3 separate regions of the Homo sapiens genome follow, and all the other regions are linked to region 3. The links are contacts of gene promoters, found by promoter capture Hi-C in blood cells and fetal thymus (Javierre and others, 2016). All regions are on one chromosome and are shown on one strand. The core of a region is centred on a gene start or on the middle of the fragment in contact, and the rest is flanking DNA. Distances in the headings are between cores, read along the strand shown.

Region 1 (4,095 bases), core at 918-3,417, 5.1 Mb before region 3:
CCAGCTACTCAGGAGGCTGAGGCTGGAGAATGGCTTTAACCCAGGAGGCGGAGGTTGCAGTGAGCGAAGATTGTGCCACTGCACTCCAGTCTGGGTGACAGAGCAAGACTTTGTCTCAAAAAAGAAGAAGAAGAAGAAGAAAAAAACCTAATGGAGGTGTGGGTGGAGGGTAGAAGGGAACTGGCCATGTATTGATAATTTTTGAAATATGTTTCTCTGTATTCTTTATATTTGAAATTCTCCATAAATAAATAAGTAAAAATAATAGAAGTGAAGAGAAACACTTGCTACTTTTTAGTTGAAACTAGAAATGGAAATAGGTAAAGGCACAAGTTCTGCATTCCAGTGTGCCTCCTGTGGTAGCAATAGCAAAGAAACACTGTCGCACAACAGGCTGAGTAGGAGACTGTCACAGCATCCAGTCTGCTTACCTTAGTAAGAAAAACCATACATGAGCCTTAATGTTAGGGCATCAGCAACAATTGTATTCCTCAGACAGTTAATTTAGACAGAGCCCAATTCCTACTACATCTGAAAAATAAGATCAATGTCAATTTTCATGGACTAAAATTTGTTCAAGGTTTAAAAAAAATTACACCAGCAATGCCAGGTTTTTCATATATTTTTCCTAAATGACATTCAGAAATTTTACTCATATCTCTGTGGAAATCACAGTCTGCCAACTCTTTTAAATGCCTATTTTTATTATCCTTTACATAAAACTAAGGAGTTGTCAAATATCTTTCAGAAAAACAAAATGAAAAGAATTTATATGATATATATAACAGTCATGAGGCTAAGACTTTATATAGACATTTAATTATCTAGATCACTTATTTTCCTATCTTTTGTACCATTATGTTTTTCTCTTTTAAATTATTCTTTCCCCAACATGCAACATTTTAGGTTGTTCACAATTCATTGTAATCAATTTGCCATGCCCTTTGATCTTCTCTTTTTCTCTCTTTTCTTAGCCAATTTATGAGACCAGGTTAGCCACATATGTTGAGTGTGTGGCTCTCCAAAATTATATACCACAAATGGCATAAGTTTGAGGAATTCAGATAACTGTGGCAAACTCTAACCTCAGCTGTACCCAACAAAAATGAAAAAGAAAAGGCTTTCCCTTTCTTAAGCCCCTAAAAACATTTTAATAGAAAGCAGAGTTAAAGTCATCCTGCCACTTCTTCTTTTTACCTGTGTGGGCTTTTCAAGACCTAAATTCTCTAGGTCTCATCATCTTTCTCTTTCTTTTTATTTATTTATTTATTTTTTAGAAAAGCTATTTGCCATAGGGAAATCCATTTTTCGGATTGGATATATAATAAATACATGAGAGAATAAGGTATGCCTAAATGGGACAAACCAGAATCCATGTAAATTTTGAACCTCACCTGCAATTTTGAAAGTCCTATTAATTTAAAAAATAGTAAATACCTTAATTTTCATGATAGCTTACTGTAAGGCTCCCTAGAGGCAATGAAAATGGGAATCTCAATAAAACGAATACTACCATACATCCTGGCTTCAGAGATGAAAACAGAGGGAGAGGATTGGCTAGTTATCAACAGAAGGGTAAGGAAAAAAAGCACAGAGAAAGAACAGACAAGGCAACAAAAGTGGCAGAACTGTAAGGGCCAATACGCATCCACTGCTTCAAGTTTTTCAGCCATGTTCCATTCTCCGAGATTTCTGGTAGTGCTTCAAGAATACTGGTCTCCAAACTCTTCCTGAAAAGGGCTAGGAATGCTTCTGCCTGAAGATCTTACCTATTCTTTCTGGGCCCCGTGATCTCCCTACATGATTGATCAACCTACTATTTCAACTCTTTCAAGCCTTTTCACAAATGTCAACTTCAGTGAGGCCTCTATTTAAAAATGAGCACCCTACGAAATCCTTTCCTCATTTCTGATTATCCCCTGTGAATTTACATCTGCCTACTCCGTACCCTCAGTTTATGCCCCTTGAACACTCTTGCCGGGCGCTTCTCCTTTAAATCTTGCCTGGAAGGGGCGGAGCTATGTCCCAGACTCACCGAGAGGAGCGTTCTCTAGGCTCCGCCCACTTACGTCTCAGTGGGCGCCCTAACGAACCCGGGATACGGTCTGTTCCTAGTCCGCTCCGGAAATGCAACTGCGTACGGGCTGGCCGCGTAATCGTGACGACAGCGCGCCAGCGCCGGCTAGCCGGACGCCCTAGGCTTCCGCGAGATCTTCGGTGGGGGTACGGGTGTTTTACGCCAGGACGCTGATGCGTTTGGGTTCTCGTCTGCAGACCCTCTGGACCTGGTCACGATTCCATAATGTACCACAACAGTAGTCAGAAGCGGCACTGGACCTTCTCCAGCGAGGAGCAGCTGGCAAGACTGCGGGCTGACGCCAACCGCAAATTCAGATGCAAAGCCGTGGCCAACGGGAAGGTGAGGTTTTCCCAACGGTTGCCCAGTTGCCCGGTCACTAAATTCTGAGCAGCTGCGGGAGCTCTTCTGGCTCCCAGGACAATCTCGCTCCGTCGTTTCTCTGCCTCTGCGGCGCGGAGTGCGTTTTTCTATCAAAATAAGCGAGCACCTTGCCAGGTTCCGTGGGTACAAAGACGAACAACGCCATCCCCGTCGTCGAATGGCAGACAAGTAACCAGTCTTTGTAACGTAGTGAAGAAGAGAGTAAGTAGTGTGCTAAGGTAGTGCGTGGCAAGAGCCGTTCACTTGTCAAGAGATGATGTTGGGGAAGGTTTTTCCCAGTAGCCAATGCGGAGAAAATGGGAAAGGAAGTTCCAGGCAGTCAGAACCACCGTTCAGAGTGGGAGGGAGGTCAGAAGTTACAGAGATGGTGCGTGGACGTGTTTGTGGTCGTATGTGGCCGAAGTTGAGTACCTGTGCAGGAATGGCTGGGGAGGGTAGGAAGGGAACTTGTAAGTGGAAGTGAGGCGTTTAACATTTCCACTGAAAGGATGAGGAACCTTTGAAATATTTAAAATGGGAAGCTAACCTTATCAGATTTCCGTTCTGGAAACAGCGCTCTAGCAACCTCGTGGTGAATGGGTTGGATGAGGGAGGGAGACCAGAGACCAAGTACAAACCAAGTGACTGAAGATGGTTTGGACTATGGCCCGCTAGCCAAGTTCCTTCTGTTACAGCTCTCGGACTGGTTTAATCTTTCCTGCAAGCTCCACTCCAGCAAGTGTTCAGTGCCTCCAAATTACCGATACTGAGTTACTTTACTTTCTACCTTTAATTCACATCTATTTCATATCACTGATTTTAGCACCTGAATTAGTTTCCTAAGGGCTGCCTTAAAAAAATCACCACAAACTGGGTAGCTTAAAATAACAGAAATTTATTGAAACATTTGCTGTTTTTTTACAACTTGTGACGTAATGACTGACCGAGAAACGGATGTTGGAAGCTTTCCAATCATATTTTAAAAAGTCTGTCTACTTTTTAATTTATAAATAATGATATCACAACTGTGAGCATGTGCACACAGCCTGTCATGATTGTTTATACTTTAATGAAGCAAAGGTCTAGCTGACATTCCGAAAAGTCGTGAAATGATGGTACAGTTTTAGTTTATTAAATATTTTCCTACAGCTATTTTGTGTAATGATTAGCGAATCTATAAAGAAAATGAGGCGTGATATATACCCTTCGTTGGATATATAAACTAAATTTAATCTAGATAGAGAAAAATGTTTTACAATTGTTTAATTCATTGAATTCATTGAACTTGTGTTGTAATTGTTGATCTAAAGGTTCTTCCGAATGATCCAGTCTTTCTTGAGCCTCATGAAGAAATGACACTCTGCAAATACTATGAGAAAAGGTTATTGGAATTCTGTTCGGTGTTTAAGCCAGCAATGCCAAGATCTGTTGTGGTAAGTTACAGTGGTGATGAAATATAATGTCCTTTAGTTGGCTTGTGAAATTTGACCTCTTCTAAATTCCCTGTCCACTCAAGTCTTAAAAATTCACCTTAGTTACAATTAATTAGTTTTTGGCACATTATATATTTTTCAATACAGGCCTTAAATCATGAGTTGCTGTATCATATCTTCAAAAGTATTTCAAGTCTCACTTTGTGGTCAGAAAAAAATTTG
Region 2 (4,222 bases), core at 1,452-3,951, 6.0 Mb before region 3:
CGTACTTTTTGTTGGTCTTGAAAGCATTTGAGAACAGTTCTCATTCAGGACATTTCAACTCATCACAAAGCCCGAATGGTAAGCAACCAAGACTTTTCTCAAAGATTATGCTCCTAATTCCCTTGCTGAAACTACTGAATTTCTTTTCATCTCCATCTATCTTTTCTTCCCTTTCATAACTGTCCCCTTTCTTTGTATCTTTGTCAAAGACACTCACCTATTTTAAATAATGGAAACAGAGAAATTACTGTACTTCAAGGCAGGCAACCAATAGATAATAATATTATTCTACCAAAAAAAAAAGACTGGGTGGCACTACCTTAAAACATATATCCATTTTAATCATTAAATAGCATTACTTATATAACAGATTTTTCACATGTAATTGAGAGAACTGTGTGAAACAGAACATTAAAAGATATTAATCAAGAGTTATTCATCAACTTGCCATACAACAAATAAGGAACACTGCACTCTGTGATCTATTAAAAATGATAAGCAGATAATCAAAACTGCGATTTCTTTTCATGGTTTTACTCTAGCAGGAATGGATTCCATTCTGATAGTAATTCCAGTTTTACTGTCACATAGAAGGAGATACTTTGCGAACCTCAATGACTGCCAGGTTTAGGACAGATATTAAGAACCACAGTGTCAGAAATGAAAGAGTACAACTTCACAGAATGTGTTGTCTCTGACAGGTTGATAGCCACTTACCTTCTCCATCTTTTCTTCCTCAAGGATAGCAGCTGCTTCCCACAGATACACCAACAGGCAATTCCAGCCCCTCTCTACCACACTTACCATTTGCAGGTGCCTGTGGCTTGTCTATTTACAACCTTGTCCCTACACAGCAGAAGCGGAACCCTTCAGGAAGTTCTGGATTCATCCTCAGCAGGATCTGTTTCACAAACTATTCTCCAGTCCCACCTTCCCTCCAGGTATTCTGTCAGTACTTACGATTCCCAGATCTTCTTTTAATTGTCACGCTGTTCGTCCCCTCACAAAATCAAGTTTAAACTAAAAAAAAAAAACAAAAAAAAAAACCCTCATACACTCAGTCTGTGTCCCCTTTCCTGACATAAAATAACTGGCCCTGTGCATGCTTCTTTTGGATGGCTGAGAACCCCGATTCCTTTGGGCCATTTACAGCTTGGATACCATACGCTCCAGGTACTTTGATAAGCAGGGTGAAATTTAATATCTATAACAACGCCTGCCTACTCAACCTTCTTAACTTCTCCCAAAACTTCCTAGTTTCCCTTCCCAATTCCAACTTCATAACAAAACATCACACTATGGCACAAAGTGAATTCATGGATGAAATTACTAACAGCTACAACTTAAGTAAGGACCCCAAGTCGTGAGACAAATTTCTGGGTTGAAAGTGCTCTGTATATCCATTTCAAGCCTGCCTCCAGTACGATGTCTCATTATAATCAAATAAAAAGGCAGAAAAAGTTGAATGGAATAGAGTTTGGAAAAAACACAAAATTAAAAGTTGTATGAGAGTTTCACTTATTTGCATCTGATATAAATATCTATACATCTATAGAAAAAAAAAACCCTCATACACTCAGTCTGTGTCCCTTTTCCTGACATAAAGCAACTGGCCCTGTGCAAGCTTCTTTGGGATGGCTGAGAACCCCGATATATCGATATATTTATAGATAGACGTCTACATATCTATCCAAATATCTATATCTATCCATATATCTACCTATCTATCTATCTATATATATATCTATATCTATCGATCGATATCTATCTATATCTATCTATCTAGACTTCCCTGGTGAGGGAGTGAACCGCTGCCTGACGGGGGCCAAGACTGGCAGAGCAGAGACGCGGTTTGTACATGAGGGGAGGTGGTGGCCAGAGCAAAAGTGAACCGCAGGCTAGGCAAAGACCACAGCACACAGCCATACAGGTGTCCAGGACCGTCAGATCCCAGAGCATCTATCTATATAGATAGGTATCTATATGGAAAACGTCCATATTGGAACGTATTAAAGAGGCAGAATTTTCTTCCTGGGTTCTCTGCTCTTGGTAGATGTTCTTCCGGCTTCAATTGCCACCTGTGAATAGTGAAGAAACTTCTCACTATGAGATTCCATTGCCCGGAAGGAGGGTAGAGCTACGGTACCCACTAAGGCAGGGAACAGAAGCAACAGACGGACAGGTCTGTGGAAATGAGGATATGCTAATAAGGGACCGAGTCAGGAAAACTAGAGGGTAACAAGAGGGCGTCAGTTAAGCTGAGACAAAATGACGGCCAAAGGTGGTCTTTACTCTCTCTAAATCACCTGGGTCTGGAGTCGACTCCCATCGCGCACCCTCACTCCCACCCCTGGCCCCCTCCCGCCCCCCACCCGCCCCCCTCCCTCTCCCCTCCCGCTCCCCACACCAACGTGTGCCTCCGTCACCTCTCAGACAGTGGATGCGTTCCTGTTGAAACCACCCAATCTACCTCAGGGTCCTCGCAAGCGCAGCCACCACGATCCGCCCGCCCACGTACCTGTGCTGCGCCTGCGCCTCCTCCGCTCTCTCAAGGTCAGCACCGCCCCCAGCCCACAACCTGGCACCCACGGAAGTTGCTTTAGAGGACGTCCTGCGTATCTTCACCTCTGCGTGGCGTGGGGTCGACGGCGCTCTGGAGAAGGGAGGAACTTCCTGTCCCGCGCGCGCACAACTTCCGGCAGAGCCGGAAGACCCTCTCTTTCGCTGTTTGAGAGTCTCTCGGCTCAAGGACCGGGAGGTAAGAGGTTTGGGACTGCCCCGGCAACTCCAGGGTGTCTGGTCCACGACCTATCCTAGGCGCCATGGTGAGTTCTTCTGTGAGGGCAGGAGTGACAACGGTGGGGCGAAAAGGGCGGGGAGGTCAGTACTGTGAAAAGAGCCATCAGGTGCTCTGCTCAGAATGGAGTTGAGACGTTGGGATGAGCTGCTGGGTAGGACCCACCACCTATCTCAGGGTGTCTGAGCCCCTGAGGAAGCAGCATTACGCCTACCTGTCTGGGAGACTAGCGGGCCGGAGGCAGGGGCGTATCTGTCAGGGAGTATGGACTGGGTAGCCTGCCTGTTCATGGCCCATTTACTGTGTATGGCCTGTGGCGCCAGGTGATCCCAGAGTTGACCTTGCCGGGTCAGTCACCTCTTCTGCGCCCCCTTCTCCATCCGCGGAACAGTGGCCAAGAACTTCAGATCTTAGAAATGCTTTTAGCCTCTCCAGGTGGACACAACGGGTCTCCTTGTATAAGATCAACACCTGTCATTTAAAGAAACGGTAGTCCCCTTATTCTTTACACTTAGCCATTTCATAATTGAAAAGGGTGTCAAATAAAAAACCCGAGTTTAGTAAGGACAGACTTTATTCGAAAGGAATATTGCAGGGGTGTGGAGGAAGGTTGAAGGAACTGTTGCAGTAGGGAGAATGACCGTAAGATTTGCATGCACCTTAAAGGTTAGGCAGAAAGGGTTTGTCTTTTGTTGGTAGGGGTAAATAAGATGTCAGGAATTGGGATGAAAATATGGGTATGATCCGGCAGTAACCAGATAATGTTTTACCCTGAGCCCATGTATTCTGAGGAGGAGCTGTTAGGAGAGGTTTGTATATGTTGTTTCAGACTGAGGGAAGGACAAAATTCAGGTACCCGAGAGAAGAGAATCTTAAAGTTTGGTTAATAAGTATTTTGTTCCGATTGATCTGTGGGACAGGTACTTCAGCAAGTCATTTACGAAGCAAAGGATGGGAATTAGAAGGGTCTAGTTATGGCCTTGTTATAGGTAAACAAGGGGTAGGGGGGTATGGATCAACCCTTAGTCTTATCTAAGTTCTACAGGAAAGATGATTCTTTGCAGTAAGCCAATTTCTCAGAACACAAACGGGGGCAAGGGGTTTCTTAACCTTTGCTGTTTTTCAAGATCACGGGGCTCTGGTGAAGTTCATTATTGTCAGTTTCTTCACCGTATACAAGATTTCAAACCCTCACTTGCAGAGGCTTCTGTCCTGGAATTTAGCTTCAGTTTGTCTTATATTTTCAGGGCCAAATATTGCCAACATTCAGTTAATGTGTGTGGTGATTGGCTTTTGAATGACTTTTAGAAACTTAGCTGAATGTAGAACAAAGACCTTCAAAATAATGTAGTTCCTGGTGCACTTTACCAGATAACCTATCTCTTTAAAGTTTTTTTTTTTAAGCCTCAGTGAATAATATGGTTT
Region 3 (3,905 bases), core at 1,341-3,840:
AAAAATTGAAAAAGTAAGTCAAAAGTGAAGAAGTTCCACAACTTCCTATCATCAAATCTTCCAATTTACTTGCAGCTGTACCTGTCACTCTACTACCATACATAAACTGTTATTGTTCCTACAGTTAACTCCTCCACTTGGGTACCCTTCTAGTCTACTTAAGGAGTTGCTCCTGCAATTATCCCTTCTCTGCTGAATAACCCATTTTTAATTTTCTCAACCTGATCAGCATACAAAAATGTCATAAAAGTTGCCATCTTAAAAATAAAACCCTCCAACTCCACATTCCCCTCCAAATAGGGTGCCATTTCTCTGCACATAAAAAATGTCTTTCAAAAATTGTCTATAGTTGCTGTCTAGACTTCCTTCCCTCCCATATTCTCTTCACTCCGATCCCATCGCCTTTCACTTTCAGTACTCCATGGAGTCCCCATTTGACAAAGTGACCAGTAATCTCCACATTTTCAAGTCCAAAAGGCAATTCTCAGTCCTCATCTTATCTCTTTTCACACTTTCTCACTCCCTTCTTCACTTGGCTTTGAACAGAGTGTAACATTGGCCACTCTTTCTTCATCTGTTTTGCTTCACCTGCCTTCTCTTCTGTACCACTAAACTTTGGTGTGCTCAGGACTCTAATCTCTGTTCTACCTACAGTCATCACCTAAGCTATCTCAACTAGAGCCACAGTTTTAATACTATTTATTCATTGATTACTCCTCAGCTTCTTATCATATATCCAACTGTCCACTTCACATCCCTGGATGTTTGACAGTTCAAACTTAACACATCCAAACCAGAACTCTTCATTTCCTCCTTTGAAATTTGCTCCTCTCCTCGTATTTCCCACTTTGGAACTCACCCAACTCACAACTCACAACTCTACAACTCACCCAAGTGCTGAGGTCAAAAATCATAGTGCTGTAATTAACTCCTCTCTCACATCCTACAGTCCTGAGCAAATTCTGTTCATTCTACCACCAAACAGTGTATCTGACCCAACCACTTTTTACTGTCTCCACTGAGGGTCCAAGCTATCACCATCTCTCATCTGAACTATTGCAATACCTTCCCAAGTGGCCTCCCAGATTCATGTCTTTTTCTCCTCTCAACAGCCAGAGTAACCCCATAAAAATATAAATCTTATTTTGCTACCTACTCCCAAGCTCAAAACTTTACAATGGCTTTAAATCACCAGAAGAGTAGAAAAAGGCTTTACCATGGCCTACAGGCTCCACATGTTCCTGTGTAACTCTCAGACCCCATCTAATGCCACACTACTCCTCAGTCACTATGCTCCCCTTCTTCACTGATCTTTCAGTTCTTAGAAAGCACTAGCCCATTCTACATCTGCACAGAGATGTCACCTTAAACTACCCTATCCAGAGTAGCCACCCCCATCCCCAAGTCACTATCACCCATCCAGCTATATTTTCTCTATAGCTCTACAGTATGTAAAAATCATCTATTTAATTATTTAATTTACATCTATCTAACTGGTCTGTCCTCTCACATTTAGAATATAAACTGTATCAGAGCAGAAACCTTCACCCTCTTAATTTAACCGCCATATTCCCGGTACCTACAACAGCGTCTGGCACATAGAAGGCATTTTTAAACATCCTTGCTGAGTGAACCAATATCCCAGAAACCTCTCACAGCTAGTTCATCTTACAGGAGAAACAGTATTAAAGAGTTAATTAAATGGCCAGGCGCGGTGGCTCACGCCTGTAATCCCAGCACATTGGGAGGCCGAGGCGGGCGGATCACTCGAGGTCAGGAGATCGACACCAGCCTGGCCAACATGGTGAAACCCCCTCTCTACTGAAAATACAAACATCAGCCAGGCGTGATGGTGGAAGCCTGTAATCCCAGCTACTCAGGAGGCTGAGGTGGGACAATCGCTTGAACCCGGGAGGCGGAGGTTGTAGTGAGCCAAGATCGCACCACTGCACAACAGCCTAGAAGACAGAGTGAGACCCTGTCTCAGAAAAAAATAAAAATAAAAATAAATAAATCTATAAGTAAATGACTCGCCAGTCAAAATAAACGGCAACTTTAGGGTTAAAGGCCCAATCTGGCTCCAAAGCTTGGGGTTTTAGTTACTACACTACATTGCTTCACTATATTTTACAATTTACTAGCTGCTTATAAGTATGAATTAAGGCTCAGAAGTCTAATTTTCCAGACTACTCGGAGGACTCTCGCCCCACTCCACTCCACAAAGATTCAGCTCAGCGACTCCTTCCTACTCTGACCTAGCCCCGCGTCCCGCTCTCAGTGGCTTGGGCAAGAGCGCCTGCGCGGTGAGCGGGTCCCATAAAACGCATTCTGGGATTGGTAGTCCATGTTCCTCCGGTCTCCAGCATTCAAAAGAAAAAGGGGGAAAAAAAACCATGCAAATTAGATATCTCTGAATTTCTTGCAAATTAAATAAGACGCAGATTCTGGCTCAGGAAAGTGATGCAAACGCGTCGTTTTCAAAGGAGAGACCCCAGCCTCGGGTCAGGCGCGGCGCAGACAGCGGCGCGGGGTCCTTGGCTGGGCGGGGCTTGCTCGCGGTGGCTTGTGGCTCCTTCCTGCGGTGCTTCTCTCTTTCGCTCAGGCCCGTGGCGCCGACAGGATGGGTGAGCTGTTGTGGCCGGTTTAAGGGCGCTGCAAGCGGGACTTGGGGTCTTGGGGACGGGCGGGCGGATGCGAATAGAGTAGGGCGGGGGATGCCATGGAGAGGCTCCATGGGGGAGGGCCGGGGAAGCGCCGCTCCAGGAGGCACGTGGTCCGGCGCGGAAGGGGCCCATGAGGCGTGGAGGCCGCCGAGGTCGGGGTACCGAGGGACGCAGGGAGGCCAGCGCTTCCTCCCGGGCATTCGAGCGGGGCCTCGTCCTTCGGGAGAACACATTCTCCGGAGCCCTCTTCGAACGTTTATTAGTCGGTTCAGGGCAACTTGAAGGCCAAATGTTTGGCCCACAGGCCAATAAATAGTACGAGAGCCAATCGGCTTAAGGGTTTATTCCAGGTGAGGCGAGTGTCTTAGAAGATGGGAAACACGTAGATGGCGTGTTTTTACGGAAGAACTAAAATATTTAATTTTTAGGCAAGTGTCGTGGACTTCGTACTGCTAGGAAGCTCCGTAGTCACCGACGAGACCAGAAGTGGCATGATAAACAGTATAAGAAAGCTCATTTGGGCACAGCCCTAAAGGCCAACCCTTTTGGAGGTGCTTCTCATGCAAAAGGAATCGTGCTGGAAAAAGTGTAAGTCCATTGCTCCCGTCAAGTTTTAGTTTATTATAGGAATTCGAGACATGAACTTACGAATTCTTGTTTTGAAAGTAATTGCAGGTTTTTGTGTAGTAGTATTCATTTGGGCATTGTGGGGTAAAATTGCAAAGCGTTTGTTCTATTTAAAAGTTGGTAAAATTAGTTTTTGGGAATTAGGTAGTTAAGGTTTTAATTTAACGTTGGCCTGGAAGGAATTGGAGAAGATACTAGCAATGATGAAGTAAAGGACACAAACACCTTTACTGTGGGAGTTGTTATAAGTAAATGGCACGTGTCAGCTATTGAACTTTATCGACTTGATAAAACTAAGGTGAAGAGAAGTGACTTGCATCAGAATTAATTGAGGTCATACACCTAAGATTGAGACATGAAACTGCCAGTATTTGACTGGTTTTGACTTTTTAAAATAATAATTTCATATAGTTCTATCATATTTGATGGTAGAGCCATTTTAACCCAGACTTTTTTTTTTTTTTTTTTTTTTTTTGAGACAGTCTAGCTCTGTCACCCAGGCTGGTGTGCAGTAGCGCAAGACTCCCTGCAACCTTAGCCTCCCAGGTTCAAGCATTTCTCCTGCCTCAGCCTCCCAGGTAGCTGGGATTACAGGCGCCCACTACCACACCAGCT

The links. The method cuts DNA at HindIII sites, captures the fragments that hold promoters and counts their contacts. A CHiCAGO score of 5 or more calls a contact.
Region 1: a contact is called between the fragment with the promoter of CCNH here and the fragment with the promoter of RPS23 in region 3, in 1 of 17 cell types (naive CD8 T cells). The highest score is 7.9, in naive CD8 T cells.
Region 2: the fragment with the promoter of TMEM161B here is called in contact with the fragment with the promoter of RPS23 in region 3 in 2 of 17 cell types (total CD4 T cells and total CD8 T cells); the score reaches 6.8 in total CD4 T cells.

What each region holds. Positions count from the first base shown.
Region 1 is chr5:87,411,002-87,415,096 of GRCh38, reverse strand. CCNH (cyclin H) reads left to right here and starts at 2,167. Exons shown (of 9, transcript NM_001239.4): 1 at 2,167-2,419; 2 at 3,751-3,873. The coding sequence starts at 2,303. It overlaps LOC105379066 (a long non-coding RNA gene), which reads right to left and starts at 2,115. Exons shown (of 3, transcript XR_948543.1): 1 at 2,036-2,115. RefSeq lists enhancers at 2,211-2,380, 2,411-2,540. The HindIII fragment of the contact is 6,680 bases long and covers 1-3,406 here.
Region 2 is chr5:88,267,324-88,271,545 of GRCh38, reverse strand. TMEM161B (transmembrane protein 161B) reads left to right here and starts at 2,701. Exons shown (of 12, transcript NM_153354.5): 1 at 2,701-2,825. The coding sequence starts at 2,823. It overlaps TMEM161B-DT (TMEM161B divergent transcript), which reads right to left and starts at 2,664. Exons shown (of 3, transcript NR_039995.1): 1 at 2,519-2,664; 2 at 961-1,020. RefSeq lists enhancers at 2,535-2,724, 2,415-2,914. The HindIII fragment of the contact is 4,710 bases long and covers 1,627-4,222 here.
Region 3 is chr5:82,277,039-82,280,943 of GRCh38, reverse strand. RPS23 (ribosomal protein S23) reads left to right here and starts at 2,590. Exons shown (of 4, transcript NM_001025.5): 1 at 2,590-2,624; 2 at 3,092-3,251. The coding sequence starts at 2,621. It also overlaps the pseudogene ATP6AP1L. RefSeq lists an enhancer at 2,270-2,599. The HindIII fragment of the contact is 8,285 bases long and covers 2,089-3,905 here.